3 separate regions of the Homo sapiens genome follow, and regions 1 and 2 are each linked to region 3. Evidence: promoter capture Hi-C in human tissues and cell types (Jung and others, 2019). All regions are on one chromosome and are shown on one strand. Each heading gives the region's core, a stretch centred on a gene start or on the middle of the fragment in contact. The rest is flanking DNA. Distances are from core to core; before and after follow the strand shown.

The links. The method cuts DNA at HindIII sites, captures the fragments that hold promoters and counts their contacts. A contact is called where the count stands out against the background at its distance.
Region 1: a fragment that was not itself captured here is called in contact with the fragment with the promoter of SCGB3A1 in region 3 in 1 of the 25 tissues and cell types used here (H1 embryonic stem cells).
Region 2: a fragment that was not itself captured here is called in contact with the fragment with the promoter of SCGB3A1 in region 3 in 1 of the 25 tissues and cell types used here (mesendoderm cells).

What each region holds. Positions count from the first base shown.
Region 1 is chr5:180,201,965-180,205,346 of GRCh38, reverse strand. All of the region lies in intron 1 of RASGEF1C (RasGEF domain family member 1C), which reads left to right. Among named protein-coding and RNA genes, the nearest start is that of RASGEF1C, 5.6 kb to the left of the region's middle. The HindIII fragment of the contact is 5,165 bases long and covers 1-3,382 here.
Region 2 is chr5:180,306,965-180,310,718 of GRCh38, reverse strand. GFPT2 (glutamine-fructose-6-phosphate transaminase 2) reads left to right here. Exons shown (of 19, transcript NM_005110.4): 16 at 3,416-3,543. Among named protein-coding and RNA genes, the nearest start is that of MAPK9, 17 kb to the right of the region's middle. The HindIII fragment of the contact is 6,492 bases long and covers 1-3,754 here.
Region 3 is chr5:180,589,690-180,593,543 of GRCh38, reverse strand. It overlaps SCGB3A1 (secretoglobin family 3A member 1), which reads left to right and starts at 2,045. Exons shown (of 3, transcript NM_052863.3): 1 at 2,045-2,133; 2 at 2,706-2,944; 3 at 3,290-3,439. The coding sequence starts at 2,082. The coding sequence ends at 3,313. It overlaps LOC124901154 (a long non-coding RNA gene), which reads right to left and starts at 374. Exons shown (of 2, transcript XR_007059088.1): 1 at 335-374. RefSeq lists enhancers at 1,844-2,513, 2,514-3,183, 3,184-3,853. The HindIII fragment of the contact is 36,128 bases long and covers 1-3,854 here.

The sequences.
Region 1 (3,382 bases), core at 788-3,287, 390 kb after region 3:
TGTGTTGCTACTATAAATGGTTTTTTCTTCAATTATATCTTTGAATTGGCTACTGTTTCGTGTATGTTATTTTATATCTTTCTGTCTTACCTGAATTTTTATTGTTAGTTTTATTGTTAGTCTTTTTTTTTGTTTTTATTTATTTATTTATTTATTTTGAGACGGAGTCTCGCTCTGTCACCCAGGCTGGAATGCAGTAGCGTGATCTCTGCTCACCACAACCTCCACCTTCCAGGTTCAAGTGATTCTCGTGCCTTAGCTTCCCAGGTAGCTAAGATTACAGGTGCCTGCCACCACGTCAGGCTAATTTTTGTATTTTTAGTAGAGACGGGGTTTTGCCATCTTGGCCAGGCTGATCTCGAACTCCTGACTTCAGATGATCTGCCATCTCAGCCTCCCAAAGTGCTGGGATTACAGGCATGAGCCACCATTACCGGCCTGTTGTTAGTCATATCTTTGATTCTGTTAGTCATTCTGTCATCTACAAATTCAAATAGCTTTACTGCTTCTCTACTGATTTTTATGCTTTCTTTTATCTAATTAAATTGGCTGAATACCTCCAATTCAGTATTAAATATTGGATGTGGTGGGCCTCCTTACCTTGTTCCTGACCTTAGTAAAAAGGCCTCTAATACTTCCCCTATTAAGAAAGATGCTGACTTTAGGATGGGAAGAGATAGATAGATGAGATAGATAGATAGATAGATAGATAGATAGATAGATAGATAGAGGAATATCCATTGACTCCTATTTTATTGGCAGTTTTAAAAATCAGGATTGGTGTTGACCTTTGTTAGAGCCATGTATGTAGATAATGATCTGATATTTCTCCTGATTACTAGTAGCATAATGAGTCATGTGATGGATTTCCCAATATCAGGTCTGGGACTAGGCTGAGGTAAACAGACACAAAACGTATGAATATTAACACTAGGCCATCTTTGCATTTCTGAAATAAGTCCCACTTGGACATGATGTAGAAAATAGTTTGGCAGTTTCTTTAAAATTTAAACATAAAAATACCATATGACCCAACAGTCCCACTCCCAGGAATCTAAGAGAAATGAAAACAATGAAATGTCCACACAAAGACTTGTACACAAATGCTCATAACAGCATTGCTTATAATGGCCAGAAAAGTAGAGACAACGCAGTTGTTCATCAACTGGTGAATAAATAAACAAGATATATATCCGTACGATGGAATATAGTTTAGCAATTACAGTTGGCCCTTGAACAATGAGAAGGTTAGGGATGCTGACCCCCACACAGTCAAAAAGCTATGTATAACTTTTGTCTTCCCCCAGATTTCACTTTGTTGTTGTTGTTGTTGTTGTTTGTTTGTTTGTTTTTTGAGACAGAGTCTCACTCTGTCGCCCAGGCTAGAGTGCAGTGGCATGATCTCGGCTCACTCCAACCTCTGCCTCCCAGGTTCAAGCGACTCTCCTGCCTCAGCCTCCCAAGTGGCTGGGATTACAGGCGTGCACCACCATGCCCGGTTAAGTTATATTTTTGGTAGAGATGGGGTTTCATCATGTTGGCCAGGCTGGTCTCGAACTCCTGGCCTCAAGTGATCCTCCCACCTTGGCTTCCCAAAGTGCTGGGATTACAGGCGTGAGCCACCGCGCCCAGCCTGTAGTATGTTTCAATATCATTGTATTAGTTATCTATTGCTGTGTACTAAGTTATCATTGACCTAGTGGCTTAAAGCAACGCATGGCTTATTAGCTCATCATTTCTGTGAATCAAGAGCCTGGGCATGGCTTAGCTGAGTACTGCTGGTGGCCAGCACTAGGTTCTCATGTAGAGACTCAGCTAGGGAAGGATTTGCTTCTCCACTCATGTGGTTGTTGGCAGTATTTAGTTCTTTGTAGTTATATTTAGAGCTTAAAATTTTGGCTGGATGTTGGCTGGAGGCCAACCTCAACTTGTTAGGGTCACCCCCAGTTCCTCGGGACTACCCACAGGTCTTTGTCACATGGGCTTCCCCAGCATGACTGCTTACTCTATCAAGCCAGCAAAGAGTCCCTAGAGAGTCATAACATAACAAAACATAACATAGTATAACGTGACATACATGATATAACAACGTAACATAATCCCAGTAGTGATATCCTATCATCTTTGCCATAGTCTGTTGGTCAGAGGAAAGTCAAAAGCCCCACCCAGTCCCAAATGTATGAACACCAAGAGGTAGAGCTCATGCCGGTGAGCACCATAGAAACTGCCTGTTGGATGTTGGATTCTGATTACTAATATTTATTTTTGCCAAAGTTTTCCCAGTCACCCTTTGACTGGACAAAGCTTAGCTTCTGTTGGTTCCTTAAGAAAGACTTGTGAGTACTGGCCAGGCGCGGTGGCTCACACCTGTCATCCCAGCACTTTGGGAGGCCGAGGCGGGTGCATCACGAGGTCAGGAGATCGAGACCATCCTGGCTAACACGGTGAAACCCCGTCTCTACTAAAAATACAAAAAATTAGCCCGGCGTGGTGGCGGGCACCTGTAATCCCAGCTAGTCGGGAGGCTGAGGCAGGAGAATGGCGTGAACCCGGGAGGCGGAGCTTGCAGTGAGCCGAGATTGTGCCACTGCACTCCAGCCTGGGCGACAGCGAGACTCCGTCTCAAAAAAAAAAAAAAAAGAAAGACTTGTGAGTACTGTTATTTCCTGCTTGCTTGCTTTCTATACTCTTGCTACTTGAAGGATAGATTGGCAGGTTATAAAATCCTTGCCTCTTACTTTCTGTCCCTAAATTTTTAAAAATGTTGTTATGGGTTGTATTGCTTGTACATTGTTGACAAGATGTCTGATATAAACATGCCTTTCTTTCCTTTGTAAGTGACTTGATTGTTTTTCTGGAGCTCCAAAGAATTTTTTTTCTTTATTTTTAAAGTTTAATCATTTTACTAGGCATTCTCTTGGAAATGATCTTAGGTACGTGGGGGACTCTTTGAATATGCATATTTAAGTCTTCTTTTATTTCTAAAACATTTTCTTAGATTATAGTGTTAAATATTATGTACCATTATTTTACCTTTTTTCTTCAGAGATGCCAATAATATGTTTGTGTTAGATCTGTTTTTCATCTGTATTCTAGATTGCTTTCTCTATGAATTTTATTTTTGTTTTATGGTTGTTTTCATTAATTTCCTTAATGAACACTATTAAGCTTTTAGTCAAATCTGTTCTCCCTAAGAGATTTTCTAATTCAGTCTTCATTTCTGAGATGATGGTCTTTTCCTCATTTTTTTTCATGAGTTCAGGCAACTCTAATTTCACATTTACCTTTTTTTGGGTCCATTTCTGTTGAGTTTTTGAATGTATAATGTAGGGATTTTCTTCATGTGTCTGAATTTTTAGTGTGTCTTCATCTGTTCATCTGT
Region 2 (3,754 bases), core at 749-3,248, 280 kb after region 3:
GCCTTGATGGCCGGGCGCGGTGGCTCACGCCTGTAATCCCAGCACTTTGGGAGGCTGAAGTGGGCGGATCACCTGCGGTCAGGAGTTCGAGACCATCCTGGTCAACATGGTGAAACCCCATCTCTACTAAAAACACAAAAAGCAGCTGGATGTGGTGGCAGGTGCCTGTAATCCCAGCTACTCGGGAGGCTGAGGCAGGAAAATCACTTGAACCCAGGAGGCAGAGGTTGCAGTGAGCCAAGATTCTGCCACTGCACTCCAGCCTGGGCAACAGAGTGAGACTCCATCTCAAAAAACAAAAAAGAATGGCCTTGATGGTGAGGCGCAGTGGCTCACGCCTGTAATCTCAGTACTTTGGGAGGCCGAGGTGGGCAGATCGCCTGAGGTCAGGAGTTCGAGACCAGCCTGGCCAACATGGTGAAACCCCATCTCTACTAAAAATACAAAAATTAGCTGGGCGTGCTAGTGGGTGCCTGTAATCCCAGCTACTTGGGAGGCTGAGGCAGGAGAATTGCTTGAACCCAGGAGGCGGAGATTGCAGTGAGCCGAGATTGTGCCATTGTACTCCAGCCTGGGCGACAAGAGCGAGACTTCATCTCAAAAAGAAAAGGCTGGGCACGGTGGCTCATGCCTGTCATCCTAGCACTTTGGGAGGTCGAGGCAGGCAGATCATGAGGTCAGGAGATCGAGACCATCCTGGCTAACATGGTGAAACCCCGTCTCTACTAAAAATACAAAAAATTAGCCGGGCGTGGTGGTGGGCACCTGTAGTCCCAGCTACTCGGGGGGCTGAGGCAGAAGAATGGCGTGAACCTGGGAGGCAGAGTTTGCAGTGAGCCGAGATCGCACCACTGCACTCCAGCCTGGGTGACAGAGTGATACTCCATCTCAAAAAAAAAAAAGGAATGGCCTTGATGAGGTGGTAAAAATTATTAGTCTGTAAATTGCAACTCTTTGTAATATCCTTTATGATGAAATGGGGAGTACACGTAGCGCCTTTCTACTGGGGCCAGGCGTGGTGGCTCATGCCTGTAATCCCAGCACTTTGGGAGGCCAAGGCGAGCGGATCACCTGAGGTCAGGAGTTCGAGACCAGCCTGACCAACGCAGTGAAACCCCATCTCTACTAAAAATAGCTGGGTGTGGTGGTGTGCGCCTTTAATCCCAGCTACTTGGGAGGCTGAGTCAGGAGAATCACTTGAACCTGGGAAGCAGAGGTTGCAATGAGCTGAGATCACGCCGTTGCACTCCAGTCTGGGCAACAAGAGCAAAACTCCGTCTGGAAAAAGAGAAAAAGCCTTTCTGCTCTACACTGAAGTGTGATGCTTGTCTCAAGAGAAGCAGCCATCCCATTGAGTAGCAAGCTGATTTTGGTGTTTGTTAGACATTTTCTCAAAATGAAAAATCAGCTGACGCATCAGTAGAAGCAACCCATGGTATTTGTTGCCAATGATAAACTTTAAGCTCCCAGGCAAAACTTTTGAGTGTTAGAAAACACCTCTGTTACCATGAGCTTGACCAGTTCCTAACATTTAAAGACTTCTCTAGGGCCGGGCACGGTGGCTGATGCCTGTAATCCCAGCACTTTGGGAGGCCGAGGTGGGTGGATCATGAGGTCAGGAGTTCAAGACCAGCCTATCCAAGATGGTGAAACCCCATCTCTACTAAAAATATTTAAAAAATTTAGCTGGGTGCAGTGGCAGGCACCTGTAATCCCAGCTACTCAGGAGGCTGAGGCAGGAGAATCACTTGAACCCGGGTGGCCGAGGTTACAGTGAGCCGAGATCGTGCCACTGCACCCCAGGTTGGGTGACAGAGTGAGACTCTGTCTCAAAAAAAAAAAAAAGTCTTCTCTGATGAGATCAAGGTGACTTCAACAAGGTGATTTTTAAAGAACATTTTATAATAAAAGTGTCCATTTTAAGAAGATTTACATACCTTTGTGGCCAGTTCACGATGTCACAGAGTTATGCACTTGTAAATGATCCATTTAAAAGCACAAGACAGAAAAATAAATTTTAACCTAACAAAGTAGAAAAAGTTTATTGATAGGATTTCAGATTCTATATTGGCACCTACCCTTTCAAGAACCTACTGTTTCTCAAGTTTGATGTACTGTGGTGTCAAAGAACAATATTCACAATTATTTGTAAAATAATTTAAATACTCCTCGCTTTTCCAACTACAAATCTGTATTTGTAGGCTGAATTTTATTTTTATACTTCAACCAAAAGAGCTTATCACCACAGATTGAATGTGAAAGCAGATATTAGAGTCAACAGTCTTTTATTAAAAAGGCAGACACTAAAAAGATTTGCAAGAACAAAAAGCAGTGCCATTCTTCTCACTAATTCTTGTTGGAAATGAAGTAATGTAATAGATTTAGTGTTGTTATTTTAAAGTGAATATTTTTAAATTTCTCATTGTTAGTTTCTTTCTTTCTTTTTCTTCTTTTTTTTTTTTCGAGATGGAGTCTCGCTCTGTTGCCCAGGCTGGAGTGCCGTGGTGCCATCTCAGCTCACTGCAAGCTCCGCCTCCCAGGTTCACGCCACTCTCCTGCCTCAGCCTCCCGAGTAGCTGGGACTACAGGCGCCCGCCACCATGCCCGGCTAATTTTTTGTATTTTTAGTAGATACCAGGTCTCACCATGTTAGCCAGGATGGTCTCGATCTCCTGACCTCGTGATCCGCCTGCCCCAGCCTTCCAAAGTGCTGGGATTACAGGCGTGAGCCACCGCACCCAACCACGCCCGGCTAATTTTTTGTATTTTTAGTAGAGACGGGGTTTTACCATGTTAGCCAGGATGGTCTCGATCTCCTGACCTCATGATCCACCCGCCTCGGCCTCCCAAAGTGCGGCGATTACAGGCGTGAGCCACCACGCCTGGTCCTCAGTGTTATTTTCTAATCTGGTAAATGTTGACAGATTTAACTCAAAAACAAAGGCTCTTGGGGATGTGCAATAATTTGAGGGACTTGCAATAATTTTCAAGAGTGTAAAGGAGTCCTGAGACCAAAGGGTTTGAGAACCGGTGGTCCCACTTACAGGGGCCTTGTCTTGAGACACAGCAGGAAAGAGGGGTGTTAACTGGTGGTGTCAGCTCTGTCTCCAGTGGGTGATTTTTGCCTCTCTGAGCCTCAGTTGTCTTACCTGCAAAACGGAGTGAGAAATGGTACTTCCTACCTTGTTGGTGCTCAAGAAAGTGTTCACACAACACGAATCCCCATCCTAACAGAATCCTGGCCAGGAGCCCAAGTTATTTCCTGTAATCTACGTTTGAAACGAATGCGAGGAAGCAAAGTGTGCTAAGTGATGCGGTTTCAAAAGCTCCTCTTAAACCCCAGCATTTGTCTTCATGAATATTGCTTTAAAGTCGGCCTGACTGGTTTTCTCCCTCTGCTCCGTGCATGGCCCAGAGCTGATCAAGGAAGTGCTGTCTCTGGAGGAGAAGATCCACGACTTGGCCCTGGAGCTCTACACGCAGAGATCGCTGCTGGTGATGGGGCGGGGCTACAACTATGCCACCTGCCTGGAAGGAGCCCTGGTGAGCCCCCACCCCCAGCCCCCACCCCCACGGAGGACAGGCACAGGAGACCCTGAGGAGCCAGCGGGAAGGAGGGCAGGGCGTTGGGCTTGGGGAGGGCCGGGCCTAAGGACCCCTTGGCCAGTCCTGTGAGCCTGCGCTGAGCACCAGCTCTCCACCAGGTTTCTAGCCCTGGGCACACAGAGATGGGTGAGGCAGGTGCCTGCCCCCA
Region 3 (3,854 bases), core at 796-3,295:
ACTCTGAAGGTCATGAATGAACCTGGAGGATATCATGCTAAGTGAAATACGCCAGACACAAAAGACAAACACTGCCCGATTCCACTCATATGAGGTGCCGGGAGTGGCCAGATTCAGAGACAGAAAGTGGAATGGTGGTGCCAAGGGCTTGGGGAGGGGAGTGGGGAGTTGTTTAATAGGCTCAGAGTTTCAGTTTTATAAGAGGAAAAGAGTTCTGGAAATGGATTGTGGTGATGTTTGCACAACATTAGAATATACTTAATGCTAATGGAGTGTGCCCTTAAGATGGTGAAGCTGGGCTGTGCGGGGTGGCTCACACGTGTCATCACAGCACCTTGGGAGTCTGAGGCGGGAGGATTGCTTCAGGCCAGGATTTTGAGACCAGCTTGGTCAATGTAGCGAGACCCCATCTCTAGAAAAAATAAAAATAAATCAAGCCAGGCGTGGTGGCTCACACCTGTAATCCCAGCACTTTGGGAGGCTGAGGCAAGAGTATCACTTGAGGCTAAGAGTTCAAGACCAGTCTGGGCAACACAGTGAGACTTTGTCTCTACAAAAAATAAACAAAATTAGCTGGACATAGTGGTGCACACCTATAGCCCCACCTGCTTGGGAGGCTGAGGTGGGAGAATTGCTTGAGCCTGGGAGGTGGAGGCTGCAGTGAACCAAGATCACCTCACTACACTCCAGCCTGGGCGACAGAGTGAGACTGTCTCAAAAAACAAACAAACAAAAAACAAAATCAAAATCCGCTGAGTGTGGTGGCTCACACCTCTAGTCCCAGCTACTTGGGAGTCTGAGGTGGGAGGATTGCTTGAGCTCAGGAGTTCGAGACCAGCCTGGGCAACACGGCAAGACAGTGTCTTTACCACCACCAAAAAAGTAATTAACTTCAAACTGTTTTTAAAAAAGAAAACGTATTTCCCATTAAAATTACTTCCATGATGACCAACAAAACACAACCAAACTCCAGATTTATAATGCAAAAATCCCCCAAACAAAATAGTCAAGGAAAAGTGTAAGTGAACAGAAACAGTGTGAATGCGTGTGCCTGGCCACAACAGTTGGCAAAGGCACAAGTGTCTGCAGGTGCGGAGGAGGCCGCAGTAGCTCGGGGTGGCTGAGGGCTAAGACGTGCTGTCAGCCATAGGGAAGGAATTCCAGGACACTGCCTGAAGAGTCAGGTCCTCCCACCCGGGAGCCTGTTTCCCACGCGTGCCAGCTACACTTTACAAAAGAAAAGAGAGACTTTGCACCAACCTAGCTGAGAGCAGCCACGCAGCAAAACGTGAGTCACTCAGTGCTCAATGCCTGGGGTCAAAAAATAGAGGAAAGAAGAAGGACTAAAAGCAAATTAGTTTATGTATCATTTGCAAAAGTTTTCAAAATGTGCTTTGCTCTCCATCTGTCATACTTCTGCAGGTGACAGACGAGTGAGGACATTTAGAGAAACTCAGGAACAAACCAGGCCCATCCACTGGCGTCGAGGCTAGTTTCGAAGACAGAAAAACGCCCCACTTCTGTTTGCACTGTGGCTGCCTGTGGCCCGGCCGGGGAGGCGGCCGGGAGTGAGGCCTGATCGTCCCTGGCGCCTCCACCTCCCCAGGCGCAGAAGGCGCCCACGAGGACCCCCAGTGCCCGACGTTGCCACGGTCTGGGATCAGAGGCAGGGACCAGGGAGCCAGGAACTGCGCCGCCCCCGCCCCTGCCCTGGCGCGAGGGAAGCTCCCCTCACCCGGGCCCAGCCCTGCAGGGGGGCGCGTGGGGTCAGACCGCAAAGCGAAGGTGCGGGCCGGGGTGGGCCTCGCGGAGACAAAGGCCGGGCCTGCCTGCTCTCAGAGGGCCCCAGCGCCTGCCAAGAGGAAGTCCTCGAGGCCCGGGCAGGGAAGGGGGCACGGGCTTCCCAGGGCCCGCCGGCCGCAGCAGGAAGTTGGCCAGGGCACGGCCGTGAGCGGAGCGGGCAGGGCTTTCTCAGGAGCGCGGGCGAGGCCGGCGCTGGAGGGGCGAGGACCGGGTATAAGAAGCCTCGTGGCCTTGCCCGGGCAGCCGCAGGTTCCCCGCGCGCCCCGAGCCCCCGCGCCATGAAGCTCGCCGCCCTCCTGGGGCTCTGCGTGGCCCTGTCCTGCAGCTCCGGTGAGCGCCCCGGGCTCCTGGCGCGCACGGTGGGGCCTGAGGCCTCGGCGCCCGCTGCGCCCCCGCCGCTGCCTGCGCCGATCGTGGATCCCAGGTCCTTCCAGCCTCGCCCGGCGCCCAGAGGGCTCCGCCACCCCGGGGCCCCGCGCCTGCAGCCCGCGGCCTCCCCCTCTCAGGGCTGTCTCCAGCCTCGTGCCGGGATGGAGGCCGCCCCTGGCCTGGGGACACCCGTCTGCCCCCCGTCTGGAGACCGGCTCCTCATCCTGCAAGGCGCAGCGCGAGTGTCCCCTCCCTTGGGGGCCTGTCCCGGACCCTGCACAGAGTTCACCGGTCCTTCCGCCACCCTCAGGCCACTCCGGTGACCCTGCAGCGTCTCCTGGCGGGGCCGCCTCCCCAGACCCGCCTGTGTCCCGGGGGCTCGCACCTGGCAGGCCTCGGCGCAGGAGGGAGGGGCGGTCGGGGAGCCGGGCAGGGCGCGACGGTTCCTGGGCGCCTCCCGCGGGGGCGCGTCCTGGACCTGCCTTCTGGGGACCCCGGCGCGCAGGCGGTGACCCCTCCCTGTTCGCTTGCAGCTGCTGCTTTCTTAGTGGGCTCGGCCAAGCCTGTGGCCCAGCCTGTCGCTGCGCTGGAGTCGGCGGCGGAGGCCGGGGCCGGGACCCTGGCCAACCCCCTCGGCACCCTCAACCCGCTGAAGCTCCTGCTGAGCAGCCTGGGCATCCCCGTGAACCACCTCATAGAGGGCTCCCAGAAGTGTGTGGCTGAGCTGGGTCCCCAGGCCGTGGGGGCCGTGAAGGCCCTGAAGGCCCTGCTGGTAAAGTGGGCACCCCGGGTGCCCTTCCTGCGCGGGCATCCCTTCCCGGCCAGCCTCAAAACTGCACCAGAGGTGTCCCGGCCCTACGTCAGGGCTGTTTCCCGTCCTGCCCCTCCAAGCCCTGTCCCTGGGAGAAGCCCGGGTCTCCGGGTGGGAACTGGGTGGGGCGCATCCGAGCTGCAGGGGCGGGGAAGGCGGAGATGGCCCCGCGCGGGTGCGCGTCCCCCGGAGACGCCAGCGGAACCGCCCCGCTCCCGCTCCCCACAGAGCCGGCCGCTGCCGCGCCCCCGCCTGAGTTCTTGGTGGCAGGGCTGGGGGCACTCAAGCTCGGCTTCTGCTTTCCAGGGGGCCCTGACAGTGTTTGGCTGAGCCGAGACTGGAGCATCTACACCTGAGGACAAGACGCTGCCCACCCGCGAGGGCTGAAAACCCCGCCGCGGGGAGGACCGTCCATCCCCTTCCCCCGGCCCCTCTCAATAAACGTGGTTAAGAGCAGCTCGAGCCTGGTATTTTCTCATCCAAATGCTGATCCCTGTGGGGGACCGAGAGTGCCAAGTCCCAGATTTTGTGAGGGGTGCTGCGTGAGAGAGGGAGAGAGAGGCCGCGAGAGTCTGCAGGTGGCATAGAGCCAGCAGTGCAAGGTGACAGAGATGGGGCCAGTATCAGAGGTAAACCGGATTTGGAAACAAAACTGGCAGGTCTTTCTTCCTGTTGTGCTCTGTAACTGTTTATGAAGCATAAAAATTATCTACTCCTTGAAGACTGGCGAGAATGCAAACGCACCAAAGCCATTTGTTGCTAAAATTTGAAAGTTTTTATTTTTTCCCTCTATACTTGTAGATTTCTTCCTCGGAATGGGGGAGGAATGAGGGCTTCAGGAAATCCGCTGTTGGGCTTGTTTTCCCTGCAG